Linked DNA regions of Homo sapiens: regions 1, 2, 3, 4, 6 and 7 are each linked to region 5. Evidence: promoter capture Hi-C in 16 types of primary human blood cells and fetal thymus (Javierre and others, 2016). All regions are on one chromosome and are shown on one strand. Each heading gives the region's core, a stretch centred on a gene start or on the middle of the fragment in contact. The rest is flanking DNA. Distances are from core to core; before and after follow the strand shown.

Evidence for each region. The method cuts DNA at HindIII sites, captures the fragments that hold promoters and counts their contacts. A CHiCAGO score of 5 or more calls a contact.
Region 1: a fragment that was not itself captured here is called in contact with the fragment with the promoter of COPS2 in region 5 in 1 of 17 cell types (naive CD8 T cells); the score reaches 5.2 in naive CD8 T cells.
Region 2: a contact is called between the fragment with the promoter of AP4E1 here and the fragment with the promoter of COPS2 in region 5, in 3 of 17 cell types (naive CD8 T cells, total B cells and fetal thymus). The highest score is 6.3, in naive CD8 T cells.
Region 3: a contact is called between a fragment that was not itself captured here and the fragment with the promoter of COPS2 in region 5, in 2 of 17 cell types (fetal thymus and total CD4 T cells). The highest score is 8.8, in fetal thymus.
Region 4: a contact is called between the fragment with the promoter of SPPL2A here and the fragment with the promoter of COPS2 in region 5, in 2 of 17 cell types (activated CD4 T cells and total B cells). The highest score is 6.1, in activated CD4 T cells.
Region 6: a contact is called between a fragment that was not itself captured here and the fragment with the promoter of COPS2 in region 5, in 3 of 17 cell types (total B cells, M0 macrophages and naive B cells). The highest score is 7.2, in total B cells.
Region 7: the fragment with the promoter of SLC27A2 here is called in contact with the fragment with the promoter of COPS2 in region 5 in 1 of 17 cell types (erythroblasts); the score reaches 5.3 in erythroblasts.

The regions. Positions count from the first base shown.
Region 1 is chr15:50,323,683-50,326,621 of GRCh38, forward strand. The region is part of intron 1 of GABPB1 (GA binding protein transcription factor subunit beta 1); the gene reads right to left. Among named protein-coding and RNA genes, the nearest start is that of GABPB1-AS1, 29 kb to the right of the region's middle. The HindIII fragment of the contact is 8,148 bases long and covers 1-2,939 here.
Region 2 is chr15:50,907,363-50,910,212 of GRCh38, forward strand. It overlaps AP4E1 (adaptor related protein complex 4 subunit epsilon 1), which reads left to right and starts at 1,321. Exons shown (of 21, transcript NM_007347.5): 1 at 1,321-1,566. The coding sequence starts at 1,417. RefSeq lists enhancers at 914-1,655, 1,130-1,419, 1,440-1,609, 1,656-2,397. The HindIII fragment of the contact is 3,809 bases long and covers 1-1,721 here.
Region 3 is chr15:50,357,942-50,360,702 of GRCh38, forward strand. GABPB1-AS1 (GABPB1 antisense RNA 1) reads left to right here. Exons shown (of 1, transcript NR_024490.1): 1 at 1-371. MIR4712 (microRNA 4712) reads left to right here and starts at 2,388; the gene lies at 2,388-2,469. The HindIII fragment of the contact is 6,184 bases long and covers 1-2,761 here.
Region 4 is chr15:50,764,432-50,767,332 of GRCh38, forward strand. SPPL2A (signal peptide peptidase like 2A) reads right to left here and starts at 1,275. Exons shown (of 15, transcript NM_032802.4): 1 at 1,037-1,275. The coding sequence starts at 1,102. RefSeq lists a silencer at 850-1,309. The HindIII fragment of the contact is 3,596 bases long and covers 142-2,901 here.
Region 5 is chr15:49,154,326-49,157,241 of GRCh38, forward strand. COPS2 (COP9 signalosome subunit 2) reads right to left here and starts at 1,274. Exons shown (of 13, transcript NM_004236.4): 1 at 1,200-1,274. The coding sequence starts at 1,253. It also overlaps a transcript of GALK2 not described here and the pseudogene NDUFAF4P1. RefSeq lists enhancers at 1,020-1,549, 1,308-2,226. The HindIII fragment of the contact is 2,527 bases long and covers 405-2,916 here.
Region 6 is chr15:50,298,472-50,301,329 of GRCh38, forward strand. It overlaps GABPB1 (GA binding protein transcription factor subunit beta 1), which reads right to left. Exons shown (of 9, transcript NM_016654.5): 5 at 2,786-2,858; 6 at 2,318-2,431. Among named protein-coding and RNA genes, the nearest start is that of HDC, 34 kb to the left of the region's middle. The HindIII fragment of the contact is 1,938 bases long and covers 587-2,524 here.
Region 7 is chr15:50,180,758-50,183,578 of GRCh38, forward strand. It overlaps SLC27A2 (solute carrier family 27 member 2), which reads left to right and starts at 1,439. Exons shown (of 10, transcript NM_003645.4): 1 at 1,439-2,148. The coding sequence starts at 1,671. It also overlaps a transcript of ATP8B4 not described here. RefSeq lists silencers at 1,331-1,670, 1,941-2,040. The HindIII fragment of the contact is 4,085 bases long and covers 773-2,821 here.

The DNA.
Region 1 (2,939 bases), core at 71-2,570, 1.2 Mb after region 5:
GAGATAGCACCTTTCCCTAAAATAAAATAAAAAATTAGCTGTATGTGGTCCTGTCTTCCTGTAGTCCCAGCTACAGCTACTCAGGAGGCTGGGGCGGGAGGATCGCTTAAGCCCAGAAGTTTGAGGCTTCAGTGAGCCATGACTGTGCCACTGCACTCCAGCCTGGGCAACAGAGTCAGATCCTGTCATTAATTAATTAATTCATAAATAAATAAATAAAATTTAAATTTAAAAAAATGGCTGGGTGTGGTGCTCATGCCTGTAATCCTAGCACTTTGGGAAGCCAAGATGGGTGGATTGCTCGAACCCTGGAGTTGGAGACCTGCCTAGGCAACATGGCAAAACTCTATCTCTACAAAAAATACATAAAAATTAGCTGGGCGGGTGGCACACACCTGTGGTCCCAGCTACTCAGAAGGCTGAGATGGGAGGATCACCTGAGCCCAGCGAGGTCAAGGCTGCAGTGAGCTGTGATTGCACCACTGCATTCCAGTCTAGACTACAGAATAAGACCTCATCTCAAAAAAAAAAAAAATTTTTTTTAATGAGTTCATTGATGGCAAGCGCCAGGCCAACAGTAAGTGCTCAATAAATCTGAGTTACTATTGTCTCCCACTGTTAACGACCTGCATTCGTTGAGTGCTGTGTGACCAAGCACCATCTCCCTACACACAGTCCTAGAGAGGGGCTGTACTGCCTATACTCACTTTACAGATGGGAAAACCAAGGTTTGGAAAAGTCACCTGACCAAGGTCCCAAAGCTAGTAGGTGAGAAATTCAGCCTCAAAGGTGGGCTCCCCTGGCTTTGAAGCCCCTCCAGTGATCCAATGCCCTGAATGCTCCCAATGTCTCCGTGGCTTTTTTTTTTTTTTTTTTTTTTGAGACAGAGTCTCACTCTGTCGCCCAGGCTGGAGTGCAGTGGGGCAATCTCGGCTCACTGCAACCTCCGCCTCCCGAGTTCAAGCAATTCCCCTGCCTCAGCCTCCCAAGTAGCTCGGATTACAGGCGCATGCCACCACGCCCAGCTAATTTTTTTGTATTTTTAGTAGAGATGGGGTTTCACCATGTTGGCTAGACTGGTCTCAAACTCCTGACCTCAGGCAATTCGCCCGCCTTGGCCTCCCAAAGTGCTAGGATTACAGGTGTGAGCCACCCCGCCTGGCCTCTGTAGTTCTTTCTATGGGCACAAGTTAAGGTTATAGTACTTGCTGTTAAGAAAATAAAGGAGGTTAGCTAGACCCAAGAATCTCTGGCTCCTTGGGGAGACTGTGGGATTATGAGTAGGTTGTTTCTTGTCTCCACTTTTTAGAGGGCTGGCCCCACCAGACATGCATAGCTCCCTGAAAATACCATGCCCAAGGAAGGTGTTCAGTAATGTGTGTTCCTTTCTGACTCTAAATGTCAGGTCCTTTCTAAGTAAATTTTGTGATTTAAAAAAGGTGAAGTCAGTACAGGATGAAATGTGCTTTGAGAGTGTCAGGATGAAATTGTTTCCATGAGGAAGAGGGACAAGTGTACCCCATGGTAAGTGGGCCTAGATCAAGACTTGGCCTCCAATAGTCAGTAACTACAAACTGGACAAATAATATTTTGAGGGCACTAAGGCAATATGATGTTATGCCAAAAAAAAAAAAAAAAAAGGCACGGCTAAAAGCCAGAAGTTGAGACCCCACCTCTGCCACAGATCAGCTGTGTGACCCAGGTGCAAATCTCGTCACTCCCTGTCTGGTTCTGTTTCTGCTGATGTAGAATGGAGCAATCAATGACAAAAAAAAAAAATCATCATCATCTGTGGTTCACTATATTTCTACTGGAGAGAGCTGTTCTAGAATCACTGGTCAAACTTTTTTTTTTGTTTTTTTTTCTTGAGATGGAGTCTCGCTCTGTCGCCCAAGCTGGAGTGCAGTGGCACGATCTTGGCTCACTGCAAGCTCCGCCTCCGGGGTTCACACCATTCTCCTGCCTCAGCCTCCTGAGTAGCTGGGATTACAGGTGCACACCAGCACGCCCAGCTAATTTTTTGTATTTTTAGTAGAGATGGGGTATCACCCTGTTAGCCAGGATGGTCTCGATCTCCTAACCTCGTGATCTGCCTGCCTCGGCCTCCCAAAGTGCTGGGATTACAGGCGTGAGCCACTGCGCCCGGCCTGGTCAAACTTCTTGAAGCCACTAACTTCAGAATATGCAAGAAGTCATAACATTTTAAAATAAGATATAAGGGTTTTTTTTGTTTTTTTTTTTTTAAGACAGAGTCTGGCTCTGTCGCCCAGGCTGGAGTGCAATGGCACGATCTCAGCTCACTGCAACCTCTGCCTCCCAGGTTCAAGCGATTCTCCTGCCTCAGCCTCTCAAGTAGCTGGGAATATAGGCGCCCACCACCACGCCCAGCTAATTTTGTATTTTTAGTAGAGGCAGCGTTTCACCATGTTGGCCAGGCTAGTCTCGAACCCCTGACATCAGGTGATCCACCCACCTCGGCCTCCCAAAGTGCCAAAAGGCATGAGCCACCATGCCTAGCCAAGTGGATTCTTTTAGAAAAACTTCATCTAGGCCAGACATGGTGGTTCATGCCCATAATCCCAGCATTTTGGAAAGCCAAGGTGGGAAGATCGTTCAAGCCCAGGAGTTTGAGACCAGACTGAACAACATGGTGAAACCCTAATCTCTCCAAAAATTTTTAAAAATTAGCCAAGAGCCAGGTATGGTGGCTCACGCCTGTAATCCCAGCACTTTGGGAGGCTGAGGTGGGTGGATCACCTGAGGTCAGGAGTTTGAGACCAGCCTGGCCAACATGGTGAAACCCCGTCTCTACTAAACAATAAAAAAACAATTAGCTGGGCATGGTGGCATGCGCCTATAGTCCCAGCTGCTGGGGAGGCTGAGGCAGGAGAATCGCTAGAACCCGGAAGGCAGAGGTTGCAGTGAGCTGAGACGGCGCC
Region 2 (2,850 bases), core at 71-2,570, 1.8 Mb after region 5:
GGTTTCTGCGCTTGTGAGAGTTTGGGGATTTTCCCTTCTGCTCTCGTACCTCTTTGCTGCAAAATTTTCTAACCAGGAGCCTCGGATGTGGTTTGTACACTATGGGCTGGTTTGTTCTATTTATTTAGCAAGTTTGTTCCCCTTGAAGGGAGGCTATCACCACCTACCTAACCTACCTCCTAGAAACACACTAGGAGTACTGAGAGCAAATTGCATTAATCTCTGAAAACGCACGTATTTATGCCCTAAACCTACTACCTTAGAAAATTCTAGAAAACACAAGGATACTCCAGGATACATTTTACCAGCTAGTCAATCGTCATCTAGCCGCTTGAAAACTCTGTACATTTCCAACAGAATGAGGGTAAAAACGGCAAATAACACGTAAGAAACGTTATCAATGTTGTTTTGACTTTGTGAATTCCCTAGAAGGGTCTCAGCGACCCTGAGGTCACCAGACCACATTTCGAGAGCCATTGTACCAGACTCTGTTCTAGATAAAAGACGGAGCAATCGGAATGAATAAAATACTCTCTCTATGGGGAGCTGTTTACGTAGTGGCAACTGCGACCTGTTCTAAAGTGGAACAGAACCGAGCGCTGTGAGAGGGTGGGACTTGGAGACCTATCCTTGCCCGCCGGGCCAGGGGAGTGGGCTCTAGAAGGATGACCTTTCAACTGCGACCTGCTGAGGAGGAGTCGGCAAGGGTGGCCGCCGACCAGTTCTCTTTCCCGCCCACCTCCCCAAATCCCAGGAGAAGAGGGGCGGACGGGAAGCGACAGTGGCCGCGAGTCCCCGGCACGCGACGGGCTCTCAACCTGGCACGCCGAATCCTCAGGACAGCCCCGCTATCACGCAACTACTCGGGTGTCCCAAGAGTCGCCAGGGCCGGAGCCGCGCGCGGCGCCGGGGACCCGCGTGAAACCGCCTGTGGGAAGCGGGCGGGTGGCGCGCGCTCCGGGGACAGTGAGAGGCGGCGGACGGCGCGGGGACGTCCCGAAAAAGGCGCAGCCAGGAAGACGCAACTCCTGACGCGGTCTCGGGCTACGCGGAGGCGGCTAGTGGGAAAGGGGGACTCTGGGAGACAGTGCCTAACAGGGCCAGGCCCCCGACGGCTTCCTCAGGAGGACTCACGGTTCTGGGGGATTCCGGAACCGCTACCCCGTCGCGAGAAAGGAGGTCTACTTACGCGCGCAATCTCGAGCGAGCGGCCTTTTCCACCCCCGCGGTCTCTTGCGCCCTCTGGTGGCCTCTCGCGAGAACGACGCTGAACTTGTTCAGGTGGGACGCCAATAAAGATTTCTTATTCAAAAAACAGGAAGTGCCTACGGAGGCCGGGCCGGCAGCGGCGGCCGGGCATGAAGCCGGGCGGCTACGGGATCGCGGGCGGCGGCGGCATCGCGGGCGGCGGCGGCGATGAGCGACATAGTGGAGAAGACGCTGACGGCGCTGCCGGGACTCTTTCTGCAGAACCAGCCCGGTGGTGGGCCCGCGGCCGCCAAGGCGTCCTTCTCCTCGAGGCTGGGCAGCCTTGTCCGCGGCATCACAGCCCTCACCTCCAAGCACGTAGGTGCCCGCCGGCCCGGGAGCTCAGGGACATCGGAGTGAGGCCCCCGCGCCAGGAGGCCCTGGCCGGGCGGCGAGACTTCAGGGCCTCTGGGGTTAGCCCTCCGGCGGGGCTCAGGGGCTGCTGTGTCGGTTCGTCCTTTCGTCTGCCTGGAAGCTTCACTTTCCTGCTGGGACTGACAGCAGGGAAGCCGAGTTTCCACAGTTAGTTCTGACACTGACTCTTTGATCGGGGGCACATCTCTGTAACCTCTGAGCCTCCGTGTGTTTTCTCAACGTTGTGGTGGAAAAGTACTGATACATAATTCATAGGTTTTTTGTTTGTTTTGAGGATTGGGTGAGATGTCAAGCGTGTGAAAATACCTAGTGCGATGGAAGTGTCAGACATTATTTACCTTCCACAAAGTTTTTTTTCCCTACTCAGTTTCCTTCTCTCCCCCGGTGCCTTCAACTGAACAACAGTTCAGATGTCGCATACCTGAAGAGATCCTGTGAGCCTCTTGTTGAATATCTTTGGGGAGCTTGAGGTTCTTGGGTTACAACAACGTGTTGGGCAAAGAAAAAGCACAGTTCTCTCAAAATGTAAAATTTGCTAAGTCTCTGCCTCAAGTGGGCTTTGAAAATGAGCAGTTATAAAAATTCTTAAACTTTTAAAATTTTTAAATTTTTATTGACGGAGTCTCTCTCTGTCGCCCAGGCTGGAGTGCAATGGTGCGATCTCGATCTCGGCTCGCTGGAGCCTTAAGGTTTTAAAAATTTTAATTTTTGTTTTTTTTTGAGACGGAGTCTCGCTCTGTCGCGCAGGCTGGAGTGCAGTGGCGCGATCTGGGCTCACTACAAGCTCCGCCTTCCGGGTTCACGCCATTCTCCTGCCTCAGCTTCCCGAGTAGCTGGGACTACAAGTGCCCGCCACTGCCTGGCTAATTTTTTGTACTTTTCGTAGAGACGGGGTTTCACCGTGTTAGCGAGGATGGTCTCGATCTCCTGACCTCGCGATCCGCCCGCCTTGGCGTCCCAAAGTGTTGGGATTACGTGCGTGAGCTACCCTGCCCGGCCTTAAAATTTTTAAATTTTTAATGACGGAGTCTCGCTCTGTCGCCCAGGCTGGAGTGCGATGGTGCGATCTTGGCTCACTGGAGCGTCTGCCTCCCGGGTTCAAGCGATTCTCCTGCCTCAGCCTCCCAAGTAGCTGGGATTATAGGCGTATGCCACTACGCCCGGCTAATTTTTGTATTTTTAGTAGAGACAGGATTTCACCATGTTGGGCAGGCTGGTCTTGAACTG
Region 3 (2,761 bases), core at 113-2,612, 1.2 Mb after region 5:
TGAAGTCTTCAGCCTCAATAAGAAGGTGAAGTGCACTGGAAGCCATTGAAGGATTTAAGAAATGGAGTATCTGGCCGGGCGCGGTGGCTCACGCCTGTAATCCCAGCACTTTGGGAGGCCGAGGTGGGAGGATCAAGAGGTCAGGAGATGGAGACCATCCTGGCTAACATGGTGAAACCCCGTCTCTATTCAAAATAAAAAATTTTTTTAAAAATTAGCCAGGCGTGGTGGCGGGCGCCTGTAGTCCCAGCTACTCGGGAGGCTGAGGCAGGATAATGGCGTGAACCCAGGAGGCAGGGCTTGCAGTGAGCCGAGATCGTGCCACTGCACTCCAGCCTGGGCGACAGAGCGAGACTCCGTCTCAAAAAAAAAAAAAAAAAAAAAAGAAATGGAGTATCATGGACTAGGATAGTAGCAGTAGAGATGAGGGAAGTGGATGGATCCAAAAAGCTGACCTATCTTGCTTACCAATTAAATGAGGAAAGGGAGGAATCAATAGTGATGCCTAGGTTTGGGGCATGTTGTCTAGGTGGAATTAATTTTAATTACACTTTTAACCCCTAGCATATCCAAATATTATTTCACATGTGATCAACATAAAAAATTACTAAATATTAAAAATATTTTACATTATCTTTCTCATAACTAAGCATTTGAAATCTGGTGTGTATTTTATACTTATAGCATATCTCAGTACTTGATTTCATAAAATTTCCAGCTGAAAAAATAGATTCACGTACCCAAGTCGTTCCAAGCATACTTAAAAGTTTTACGGTAATCGAATCGTGTATATTTTTAAATTTTATTTTAAATTAAAGTTAGGATTATGAATTCAGTTCCTAAATTAGCCTCATTTCACTTCTGCATTTCAAGTGGGACAAGTTATTACCATATTGGACAATGCAGTCTAGTGAAGTAGAGGATAGTGGAAAGTCAGACTTAAAAAGTTGTTTAGAACCAGCTCTGGAAGGCCTTGGATGTCAGATTAAAGGACTGAGATTTTACCCTTGAGTCAGGCAGAATAATGGATGGTTTTTGAACTAAGGAGTGACACAAGGTTGTGCTTATGACTAGAAGGAGGCCACTAGGTGGCCAGCTGGTGAGTCAGGACACCCTTCAGTTGCTTTGACTTCAGCCCTGTGGATTCAAAGTCTGATTTTTGTCAGCGCTCTAGAGCAGTCTCACCAAAAGTGTGGTCCACAAGGCAGTGCCAGTCTGTAAGCCCTTTGTTACACATCCATGTCAAGGCATTTACAGAAAGTAAGAATTTAGAAACTTATAGCAGTTTAACAGACTAATTTTATTTCTGTGGGTCTAATAAAAATTTGAGGGATTGTACTTTGCATATTCTTTATTTCCCTTTTTTTGTTTGTTTTTTGTGTTCGAGATGGGAGTCTTTTTCTGTCGCCAGGCTGGAGTGCAGTGGTGCAGTCTCGGCTCACTGCAACCTCTGCCTCCTGGGTTCAAGCGATTCTCCTGCCTCAGCCTCCCAAATAGCTGGGATTACAGGTGTGCACCACCACATCCAGCTAATTTTTGTATTTTCAGTAGAGACGGGGTTTCACCATGTTGGCCAGGATGGTCTTCATTGCCTGACCTTGTGATCCGCCTGCCTCAGCCTCCCAAAGTGCTGGGATTACAGGCGTAAGCCACCGTGCCCGGCCCTTTTTTCCTTTTTAGTTTATTTTTTTCTTTTTTGAGACAGAGTTTCGCTCTTATTGCCCAGGCTGGAGTGCAATGGTGCGATCTTGGCTCACCGCAACCTCTGCCTCCTGAGTTGAAGCGATACTCCTACCTCAGCCTCCCAAGTAGCTGGGATTACAAGCATGCACCACCATACCCTGCTAATTTTGTATTTTTAGTAGAGACGGGTTTCTCCATGTTGGTCAGGCTGGTCTCGAACTCCCAACCTCAGGTGATCTACCTGCCTTGGCCTCCCAAAGCGCTGGGATTACAGGTGTGAGCCACTGCACCCGGCCGTTTTTTTCTTTTTCTAATAATTTTTATCATATTACATAAAAGTACCTATGGTCTCACAGATGAAGGGAGTCAGAAGAACCAAACTCCCAGAAGACATATAAATCTAAATGCCTTTTTTACTTTAGAGTGAAAACTGTAATAGCTAAATTATAATGGACATCTGCTCATTTTCTCCCTCCATGTAGACATGGAAAGCTACACGGAAATAACCGAGTTTATAGTAGCTACCATATATTAAACGTTTCCTGTATGCCAGCCACTGTGCAAAGCATATTATATATATTGTCTCATTTAATCCTCACAACTCTGTAAAATAAGTATTGTTTGCCCCATTTTTCCAATGAAGAAACCGAGGCTAAAATAGGTTGAATAACTTACCTAAATTCACCATCCTCAAAGGTGTTAAAGACAGGATTCCAGTACAGGTCTCTCATTTCCTTCATGATTAGGAATACTACTTTGAAATGAGAGACCTGTACTGTATCTGTTAATTCCAAATTCCCTGGCATAAAGACTCAGTACATTGTTTAAAGAGAATGCATGAAGTTAACTGCATTACCTTTTGGAGGGTTCATTTGTGAATTTGGGGCCAAAGTAAGGGGAGTTACTGGTATTCTAATAGCATCAAACAAATGAATTCATTTCATCTTTTGGGGAGGTGGAGGGAATAAGGTCTCACCTTGTCGCCCATGCAGGCTGGAAGGCCGTGATGTGATCTCAGCTCACTGCAGCCTCAACCTGGGCTCAAGCGATCCTCCCACCTCAGCCTCCTGAGTAGCTG
Region 4 (2,901 bases), core at 25-2,524, 1.6 Mb after region 5:
AGGCACTTACTTTTTGGCTTAGATTTTGGTTTTTCAATAAATATTAAAGACACTTTTGTATTCACTAATACTAACCCCTTAAACTGGAGAGTCAGCAAAACAGTCTTTCAAAGAAATCACACATTCTAATAGAACGAAACAAGCTTACACGACACCAATTCTGTAATAAATAACATGCGTAAGTTTCCAACCTGAAACTCCCTAAGTAAAAGTCACTAGAAACAAAAACTGAAACACCGGGTTCCTGACACCCCACTCCCACACTGAAGCTCGAATTACTTGAGGCTGAATTTTAAAACACTATTACTTCTCTGTGACTATGAAAACAAATCTATGAACACATATTTCTTACTTACATTTAACCGACGCTCCCCACCCATCCCTTTAAATTAGGCAGAAAACTGAAAACCACTAAAAGCATTACATTTTGGTGTCTTCTTTTAAAAGTTATTTTAAATTACTGCTATTAAAACCCCCCCTCCAAAAAAAAAAAACCCTCATAACAGAATCAAATGAGCCCTAAGGCGAAGCAGGAGCTACAGTGGGGGAAGGGAATTTTAAAAAGACATCCGTGTTAGTGCAATTAAAGTGCAGTCCTCGAACCGCTAAACATACTGGCGCCTTGTATAATTTTTTTTTCTTCCCAAGGGTAAAAAGCGGTAAGAAAGGCTTAGACAATAAAACCCAGAGGTCAATTTTAAATATGCTGGGACAGTGAGCAACTATCGAGAAGCATCAAGGTCAACGCAACCTAAGGGGCTCCTCTGATCTTTTTGCGGTAGGTATTTCGCCAGACTTCAATGGGCGGGAACCGAGTGGGGGGCGGGAAAGTTGGGGGAAAGAGGGTGGAAAAGAGGAGGGTGGAAGGAAAGAGATGAGTAATGGAAAGAGGAGGGGAGGAAAGAGGAGTGCGAGAGCAGGCCGCGGAGGTGCGGGCAGAGGGGAGGCCGGGCGAGGAGTAGGGGAAGGGAGCCCCGGCCTTGGCCCCGGCCCCGCCCAGCCCCTGGGAGGCCTGCGCGCCTTCCCGCCCCCTTACCAGCTGGAGCAGGAAGCCCCAGAGTAGGGCGGCCCCGGCAGGGGACAGCCGCCGCTGCGGCCCCATCGGACTGGTGGGTGCCGGGTGGGACGGCACGGTGCGGCGCAGCTCACTCGGCGGGGTAGGCTCGGAGTCCCGCCGCTGCGCTGCCTCCGTGGCCGGACCGGACCGGACAGGCGCGGGCGGCCGGGCTACGACTGGACCGCCGCTGCTACAGCGGCCGCCACAGCAGCGCGACTTCCTCTTCCGGCCCCGCCCGTAAGATGCGGAAACCCCCGCGCCGGGCTCGGAGAGTCCCAGCGCTCTCCCGGTATCCAGGCGTCCCGGCGTCCCGGCGCTACGAGGCCACCGGCTGCGGGTCTGAGCCTGTCGCTTTCCGGCTGCCCGACTTTAACTCACACCGAAGCCTGGCGGGAGAACGGATTTCTCAAGGCTCGGAAGTGTCTGAGCGTCTGCTCGGTTCCCCAGTAACTACCCGAGTGTTGCATGCAGCCAGAAATCTAAGGGTCACCCTAATTCATCTGCCTGTCATTTGTTCCTGGCCACTCTGACTCACCACATAACCCAGATCCATCCACTTTCTCCAGAACTGCTGCCACCACTCTATCCAGGCCACCAACTTCCCTCTCCTCCAAACGGGTCTCAGTTTCCCCTCCGGACAGCCCAGTAGCCACATAACAGTCCCAGAGCCATCTTTCAAAACATATAAGTCAGATCATGTCTCTCTCTATCACACTTGGAATAAAATAAAAACTTGGCCGGGTGTGATGGCTCACACCTGTAATACCAGCATTTGGATGGCCGAGGTGGGCGGATCACAAGGTCAAGAAATCGAGACCATCCTGGCCAACATGGTGGAACCAAGTCTGTACTAAAAATACAAAAAATTAGCTGGGCGTGGTGGCACGCACCTGTCGTCCCAGCTACTCGGGAGGCGGAGGCAGTAGAATCGCTTGAACCGGGTAGGCGGAGGTTGCAGTGAGCCGAGATTGTGCCACTGCACTCCAACCTGGGCGACAGAGCGAGACTCGGTCTCCAAAAAAAAAAAAAAAAAAAAATCAAAACTCTACTCTAGCCTGCAAAGGTAAATCTGGCCCCTGCCTTCCTGTCTCCCCATCTTCACTACTTTCCCACACTTTAAGGCGCACGGACCTTTGGCCCTCCCGGCCTTTGCTCTGGTGGGCCGCCCGGACTTTGCTCTGGTAGTCCTCCCTGCTGGAGTGCTCTTCTCTCCAAAGCTCAGAATGCCTGCCTTGTTGACATTCACTTATCAGCTTCAATGTCGCTTCCCCAGACGGGACTTCCTGACATACCCAATCTAAAGTACCTGTCCAGTCACTTTCTTTTCTTTTCCTTTCTCTTTTTTTTTTTTTTTTTTTTTTGAGACGGAGTTTCGCTTTTCTTGCCCAGGCCGGAGTGCGATGGTGCAATCTCGGCACACTGCAACCTCCGCCTCCCAGGTTCAAGCAATTCTCCTGCCTCAGCCTCCCCAGTAGCTGGGATTACAGGCGCGTGCCACCACACCCGGCTAATTTTGTATTTTTAGTAGAGACGGGGTTTCACCATGTTGGTCAGGCTGGTCTCAAACTCTCGACCTCAGGTGATCCACCCGCTTTGGCCTCCCAAAGTGTTGGGATTACAGGCATGAGCCACCGCACCCGGCCTGTCCAGTCACTTTCATATTATTGTTTATTTTAATTATCTGCACAGCACTTTTCATTCTATGTATAGGTTCATTTATTTATGCCACCTCCCACTTCATAGCAAGGGGTGTCTTTGCTTTGTTGACTGCTATACCCTTTACATCTACAGTATTTGGCATATAGTAGGTCCTCAGATATTTGTTGGATGAATATTTAATATCA
Region 5 (2,916 bases), core at 24-2,523:
CATAACTATTAGCGAAACTACATTTAACTTTAAAAATTATAAAAATCTCTACTATGACTTTCAAATAATAGCGAGAATTTCCTTTCTCCCTTTTGCAAAGTGTGCCTTATTTTAAAATGCAAAAAACTGAAAATATATACGAAAAAGTTATAGACTAATTCAAAACAATGTATTAATATTTTGACAATCTCTGGCACTTAAAATGAGTCAGACGTCCCAAAACATCTATTTCGTAACTTTATGATAATGCAGCATCACCATAAAAGAACCATATGAAACACCCCCAAAATAAAGAAACACAGCAAAATTGACGTTAATTCTGGATCAAGATAATTTTCTGAGTTTCCACACGATGTTTTTGAATAGCAAACGTTATTCAAACTTGCAAATCCATTAATAAATGAAGCTTTGAATCTTTAAAAATCTCCATTCGGTCAGAAAAATTCGTTTATTTCTATGCTGTTGCTGTTTTAAACTTTGTATACTGGGAAATTTCTAAGGGAAAAGCCATGGGTTCAATTATCTTTCACCCGTCCTCCAAAAACACCACAAGCAAAACCTCCTCCCCAGCTTTTCTTTATAAAGAACTGAAAAAGTGGTTCGACTACCTTTTTTTCAGTTATCTTTGCTCTGAACTCTCCCCTACACACTTACCTCGGACCAAAACTGGCCCTGGCAAGACTATTTAAGCTATGTCTCCAGGAGACTCACAAGTTGCGTTTCGCAGTCAGGCCTGGGAGCAGTAAGGACACCCCCGTTTTCTGACTTCTCCTAGCATTTCGCACCCGCTCAGTTCCAGTGTGAAGAAGTGGGGGCCCGGAACGCTGGGCCCGAAAGGGCAAAGCCAGGGCCTACACCGCAGCATGGTCACCGAGGCGGCTAGCGCGGTGGGGAGGCAGAAGACAGAGAACCGAACGCCTGGGACCAGGGGCATCCGTGTAAACCGAAGAGGCGCTCAGACTCGGAGGGCAAGGCCCGGGGCCCCCTTCGCTGCCTCCTTTGCCCTCCCTTCCCCCATGCTGGAGAAGCAGGGCCCGGGCCCGGTGCGGGAACGGGGAGGAGGTAAACCAGTCCTGTCACCGCACTGAGAGAGGCTGTAAACGGCACATGCTCTACGGGGAGAGGCCGCGGGCGCCCCGGCCCGGACCCCGAAAACAAGACACATCACCACCCTCAGAGTTCCATTCCCTGCGCCTCACCAGGTCGTAGTCCTCCTCATCATCGCACATGAAATCATCCTCCATGTCAGACATCTTGGCCGGGAGGGGGAGGAGAAATTGGAGACAACCTCCTCCCACAATCCTCCGCGGCTCAGAGGCGTCACTCTCAGCTTCTTTCCGCCTTCCAGTCCCTCTTAGAGGAGCTGTTTCCTGCCGGAACTAATTATCTCGACTTGTAGCTGATTCGCTACGACTCCAAAAGAGACTGCACCACCCCCCGTTTCCTCCGAAGTGGTTGGTGCCTTAGCAACTAAAGCTGGCAACTGGGACATCGTCCGGTGCTGCAGGTCTCAGCCGAAGGGCGTCGGAAACTGCGCTCGCATCGAGCAGTTTCCAGCCTCCTGGGTAAAGGAGCAGTCTCCTCCCTTGCTTGGGACTCTGGACGCATCTCATTCCGGTGAAAGTAAGGGACAGCTTAGGACCAGAAGCCTTTCGCGGAGAAAAGGCTGACATGCCCGTCCTATATGACAGGTATTATTTCTGCTATCATTGTACGTGTGCATTTAGCCCACACATTGCGGTGGGTGTTCCTAAGATACTTGGAGTACTTTTCAGCAACACAGTTTACACTTAATGCTTGTTATATTTGTAGTTGACAAAACAATTCTATGGATATCCTAAATTAGGTATGCAGCTATCAGTTGAGTTGCCTTAAATCTTACTCAGTTGTTCAACGAGTTGTAAACTGACCTTTACAGCCCTTGGGACCAAATTAAGGTAACAACGACTGGTTTTTAAAAAATACATTACTGTGAACCTGAGGGCATCATGTTGTAAGGAGATGGGGGCTGCGGTGACTCGCGGGATCAGGAATTTCAAGAGAACCGAGCGGAAAGGGAAATCCGCAACATGAAGCCCTCTCTCGCTCCCAGGCACCCCTCTACCAGCAGCCTCCTGCCAGAGCAGATTAGTCTCTATCCAGAAATTAAGGGAGAGATTGCTCGTAAAGATGACAAGCTGCTGTCATTTCTAAAATATGTGTGTGTTGATTCCAAAGATCCTGTGTCTTCCGTGCAGCTGAAAGCTGCTGAAACACGTCAGGAGCCAAAGAAATTCAGATTGCCGAAAGGCCATCACTTTGATATGATAAATATTAAGAGCATTCCCAAAGGCAAAATTTCCACTGTAGAAGCATTGACACTTTTCAATAATCATAAACTTTATCCAGAAACATGAACTGCTGAGAAAATAGCGCAAGAATATCATTTAGAACAGAAAGATGTGAATTCCCTTCTTAAATATTTTGTTACTTTTGAAGTCAAAATCTTCCCTCCTGAAGACAAGAAAGCAATACAATCAAAATGAAGAAAATCACAAAAATTTCCTATGTGTACTCCTCATCCCTCATCCTGTATATTTTCTTATTTTTGCATATTAAATTATGTTAATTACCAAGTGTTTAATGCTCTCATTGTGAGAGCATCCTCTTAATATTTATTGAGCTCCCTGAATTTTCAAGATTGCCATAGACTGTATTTTGTTTTCTTTTAATTTGGTTTAGGCATATTTCATATGTACATGTTAGCATGACTAATCAGCACATCTGTACCTTTATTATAAGTAAAAGAGTTAATTTGTTATTTTAGACACATCATACCAACTTTTAAATTGGTCATATGACCCCTTGGGAAGTGTCCTGAATCCCTCATTTAAGTTTTCCTATCCAATTTAGGTGTTTAGTTCATTCTTCATATGT
Region 6 (2,858 bases), core at 306-2,805, 1.1 Mb after region 5:
TTCTGCAATTACATAAGTATTAAATAGATCCAGGCATAGGTTATAAAAGCAGCATGTTAGTATGATGATGCATATAACTGCTAATGGCCAAAAGTGATTCATACAAATCTTAAGACTCCCAAATATAAAGGCTTGGATTCAAACTTAGATTATAATGCTACAGAAGCTAAAGAATGGATAAATGTTATTTTCAAAAAGAGGCTGGGCACAGTGGCTCATGCCTGTAATCCTAGCACCTTGGGAGGCCGAGGAAGGCAGATCACTGAGGTGAGGAGTTCGAGACCAGCTTGGCCAACATGGTGAAACCCCGTCCCTACTAAAAATACAAAAAATAGCTGGGTGTGGTGGTGCATGCCTGTAATCCCAGCTACTGGGGAGGCTGAGGCAGGAGAACTGCTTGAACCTGGGAGATGGAGGCTGCAGTGAGCCAAAACTGTACCACTGTACTCCAGCCTGTGTGACAAAATGAGACTCCATGTCAAAAAAAAAAAAAAAGAAAGAGAAAAGAAAAGAAAAAGAGAAAAGAAAAAGGTAGCATTCCCCCAACTCCTCCAAGTCAAGAATATTACAGTAATATCCACCTTAAAGCTTTCTGGTGAGGAATAAATGAGATTATAAGTAAAATATTTATCACAGTGCCTAGCAGAGAGAGTAAGCATTTGATGAAATGTTGTTATTATTGATCAAATTTTGAAAAAACACTAATTTAAAAAATGAATGACAAATTATTCTTTGCTTTTATAAGCACTGAACCAAATATAATGGCTTAAGCTACAGAAAAATATTTTCTTGGAATTTAAAAAATTTCCTAATTAAATTTTACCGACATAATAATTACATCAAGAAGTATTTTGGTTAAGTATAAAGGTAAATCTTGTATAAACCAAATGTTCATGAATACTGTTTGTCATCATTTAACAACAGGTAACCCTTTCATTTCTTTTTGAGACAGAGTTTTGCTCTTGTTGCCCAGGCTGGAGTGCAATGGCGTGATCTCGGCTCACCGCAACCTCCACCTCCCGGGTTCAAGCCATTCTCCTGCCTCAGCCTCCCGAGTAGCTGGGATTACAGGCATGGGCCACTACGCCTGGCTAATTTTGTATTTTTAGCAGAGACGGGATTTCTCCATATTGGTCAGGCTGGTCTCGAACTCCTGACCTCAGGTGATCCACCCGCCTCAGCCTCCCAAAGTGCTGGGCTTACAGGAGCAAGCCACCGCACCCAGCCAGGTAACCCTTTAACAGTGGTTTCTGTATACTATTTCCTAGTTCTATCAGTCATTAAGATTTTATAACACTCTAGTAGAGCTGCTAAAAATTAAAATTTATGAAAAAAGTGTTTTTTGGTTTTGGGTTTTTTTTTTGAGGCAGGGTCTCATTCAGTCGCCTAGGCTGGAATGCAGTGGCATGATCTTGGCTCATGGCAACCTCTGCCTCCCAGGTTCAAGCGATCCTCTGACCTCAGCCTCCTGAGCAGCTGGGACCACAGGAGTGGACCACCACACCTGACTAATTTTTATATTTTTTGGTAGAGATAGGGTTTCACCATGTTGCCCAGGGTTCTGGGCTCAAGCAATCCACCTATCTTGGCCTCTCAAAGTGTTAGGATTACAGGTGTGAGCTACCATGCCCAGCCAAAGTGAGTTGTTTAAACAAAAAGTCACAAACTAGTAAATCAAGAGCCAAATTAGAGACAGGGACATTTTTTTCTGTGAGCCACACAAGTTTTGTTTTTCAATTAGTTACCAAGATTTAATGTTCTTTTAAAATCCAGATTCACAGCTTCCTATTAAAAAACAGAATTTGGGAATACTGGACTGATGACTATAATCAGCTAGAGTTGAGTCACAGATGCCTCCCTGCCCTTGCCCCATTCTTCAGCCGGGTGTAATCTCAATCCTGCCCACTTTAGCCTTTTATTGTCTTCCTGGCCTTTGTAAATATTTGAATCTGCAACTGTTTTTGGTTTTTTTTTTTTTTTTTTTTTTTTGAGACAGAGTCTTGCTCTATCACCCAGGCTGGAGTGCAGTGGCACAAACTCAGCTCACTGCAGCCTTCACCTCCCGGGTTCAAGCAATCCTCCTGCCTCAGCCTCCCGAGTAGCTGGGATTACAGGCCATGTGCCACCACGCCTGGCTAATTTTCTGTATTTTTAGTAGAAACAGAGTTTCACTATGTTGTCCAGGCTGGTCTCAAACTCCTGAGCTCAGGCAATCCACCCGCCTCGCCCTCCCAAAGTGCTAGGATTACAGGTGTGAGCCACGGCACCCAGCCTGAATCTGCAATTTTAATGTACACATTAGACTCGTTTTTCTAACCTGGAGTTTCTGAAGAATTGGACAATGGAGCAGATGCTTCAGCTAAGGCAGCTAATGTAGCTAATACTGATGTAGAAGAGTTTCCAAACTGAACAGCAGATACACCCGTTTCATCTGTAAGAAAAAAGAAAATAGATTTGAATTTCTAAGGAGCTTAATCCAATGCATATTTCTGATATTCTATTTATCTTACTGACTCTTAAACAAAGCTTGGATAGCATTAGCTTTTGAAAGGTAATACTGCAGTAAATTTTGTAATATCACCTTTCTTCAGATTGTTTTGTCTCATAAAAATCTTTTTGCCAGTTATACCAAAGAAAACAAAGGTGGCTGATAGAATCTTACCCTCATTCTCCAACCGTCCTTTCTTACAAGGATGAATACCTACTAAAGCATAAAATCCCAAAGCCTATCCTATATGCATCTCAATACCTGTTGCCTTGGATGAATTTTCTGAAGATACCAGACCTGTTAGGTTCACCACCCCTCCAGGTCCAATGATAAACTGTGGTGTTGCAGCATGTATTGTCACAGTGTCAGG
Region 7 (2,821 bases), core at 189-2,688, 1.0 Mb after region 5:
CCAGGGAAATGATGCAACCAGGTAGCTGGATCAGAAATGAAAAAGTCAGGAAAAGGGAAAGGTTGCTTGCGCAGTTACTAGGGATACGAAAAGGAGGCTAAAAAACGGCAGGGGGTGGCCTGGAGGGAATGTGAAACATTTTTGTGTGTTTTACACACACCGAAAAAAAAAGAGGACATGGACAGAAACCTAGAGAATAGGAGGACAGCATAGTATAGTTACTAAGAATAAGCTAAGAGTTGGTTCCCCGGGACCAAACAGATACCATTTCCAAAACCCACGAATTACTTACCGGCTGTCTCAATTCACCTAAGCTTCCCTTTCTTGTCTGTAAATGAGCATGAAAGTGCCACCTGTATAAAATAACTCAGGCTCCCAAAATGTAACATAGGGAAGCTCCTAGCAGCGTGTCTGGGAGGAATAAGCATTATCTGTATTTATCGTATCAAATTAAGATAGAGGAACACAGGAGGACAGTAGAGGATGAAAATAAAACACTACTTAGATCCTGACCCTCCTCAGTGGCAAGTAGTGAGCATTCACTTCGTACAGAAGTAGCACTAAGGCAAATTAAAAGAAAGGTTCACATTTCCTCTAAAAGAAATGGTTTTTGAGTCATGCCAATACCACTTACTCAATGTCCTCTGTACTATACTATTCTCTGACAGAGCCACTTATTAAATGTGTGAACTGTGCTGACAACACTTGACAACTTTCAACATGAGGGAACAGCAGGATCACTTAACAGAACAAAATCGTAAAATAATGTCAAAGCTTGATTTCAGGTGGTGCGGTGTAGCACTGCTCTTCACGAAATCAGGACTCCCCCGACCAGGCAGGGCCGACTAGGTTAGAGTGTCCTGCCCTCACTCACCTGGCAGGGCTTGGGATGAGCTGGACGTGACTGCCACAGGCATTTCTGTTCAACCTTGAAGCCTTCGCTACAGGAGACCGCCTGGCAGTCGGGCTGGGAAGCAAATCTGAGAAACAAAGAGAGACCAGGCGGAAAGCCCTTGGGACCAGGAAGGAGAGATGAGATTCTGGTTTGGCAGTGGCACCTGGTACCCGCTATTAATAAATAATAGGACTGTCTGACATTTATAAGGCACTTTATCGGTAATAACAGTGTCATCTCCATAAGCCATTCTATTAGTGGTAACAAATAATAGCCCCACGCCTGCAATATCTCCTTTAATATTCCCAACGTCCGCTAAGCGCGTCTCATCACCATTTAAAGAAACCGTGGCTCCTAGAGGTAAAGTACTTCGGTCACAACGCGAGGAGGTCCAGACTTGACCCCAGACCTCCAGACTCGAGCTGGGAAGTGGCCGAGGCTCCTGGTGAGCCGCAGGGCAGCCTGCCCAGCCCCGGGAGGACCGCGTGGGAGGGCCGGGAGAGCAGGTGGCTGCCCCCCACAAGGGGGCGGGCTCAGCCGGCCAGTCCTGCCCGGAACCCCCGGCAACGCGCATACGACTACACCTGCTCCGGAGCCCGCGGCGGTACCTGCAGCGGAGGAGCTCTGTCTTCCCCTTCATCTCACGCGAGCCCGGCGTCCCGCCGCGTGCGCCCCGGCGCAGCCCGCCAGTCCGCCCGGAGCCCGCCCAGTCGCCGCGCTGCACGCCCGGGGTGAACCCTCTGCCCTCGCTGGGACAGAGGGCCCCGCAGCCGTCATGCTTTCCGCCATCTACACAGTCCTGGCGGGACTGCTGTTCCTGCCGCTCCTGGTGAACCTCTGCTGCCCATACTTCTTCCAGGACATAGGCTACTTCTTGAAGGTGGCCGCCGTGGGCCGGAGGGTGCGCAGCTACGGGAAGCGGCGGCCGGCGCGCACCATCCTGCGGGCGTTCCTGGAGAAAGCGCGCCAGACGCCACACAAGCCTTTTCTGCTCTTCCGCGACGAGACTCTCACCTACGCGCAGGTGGACCGGCGCAGCAATCAAGTGGCCCGGGCGCTGCACGACCACCTCGGCCTGCGCCAGGGAGACTGCGTGGCGCTCCTTATGGGTAACGAGCCGGCCTACGTGTGGCTGTGGCTGGGGCTGGTGAAGCTGGGCTGTGCCATGGCGTGCCTCAATTACAACATCCGCGCGAAGTCCCTGCTGCACTGCTTCCAGTGCTGCGGGGCGAAGGTGCTGCTGGTGTCGCCAGGTGAGCCCCGAGGATCGCCCTGCCCTGGCACCAGGGCTTCTCGGCGCCTTGACTGACGAGCCACAGCGTGGCATAAGGGGTTCGCAGAGGGAGGTTCAGATCGGAACTGTAGGTATAGAAAAAGGTTGGCAGTGTTTCCTTGAATCGCAAATAATGATCTTTTAGGACCACCTGTTGTGGAAGCTGATAATGTGCTAGGTTCTGTGTTAAGCACTCTACAGGCAGTGTGGTTTTTAATCCTCACAATGGGTAGGCTTTGTTATAGGACTTTTATAGATGAGACCACTGAGGTCCTGAGAGGTGAAGCCTCATGCCCAGCCATCTATCTCCAAATTCCAAGCTCTTAATCAATACTTATAACATCTGCATTAAAATGCAGAGGATCTTGAGTGCGAACTCTAGTGGATCCAGAGGGGCTCTTCTCACCTCTGCTGCTTGACTGGCTGTGTGATCATGGGAAAGTCACTTCTCCTCTCTGTCCCTTGGTTTGCTCCTCTCTAATGAGGCAGGCTTCAATGTTGCTTCCAGCTCTCAACTGCTGTTAGCATCCTGTCCCCTCCCTGCAGAACAAAGGTGACCCCACCTGATCCCCAGGGAGAAGATACTGGGGATCTGCTACAGGACCGTTGTGAGCCCCCACTGCATCTATCACAATAGTGACCCTTTCAGTTCT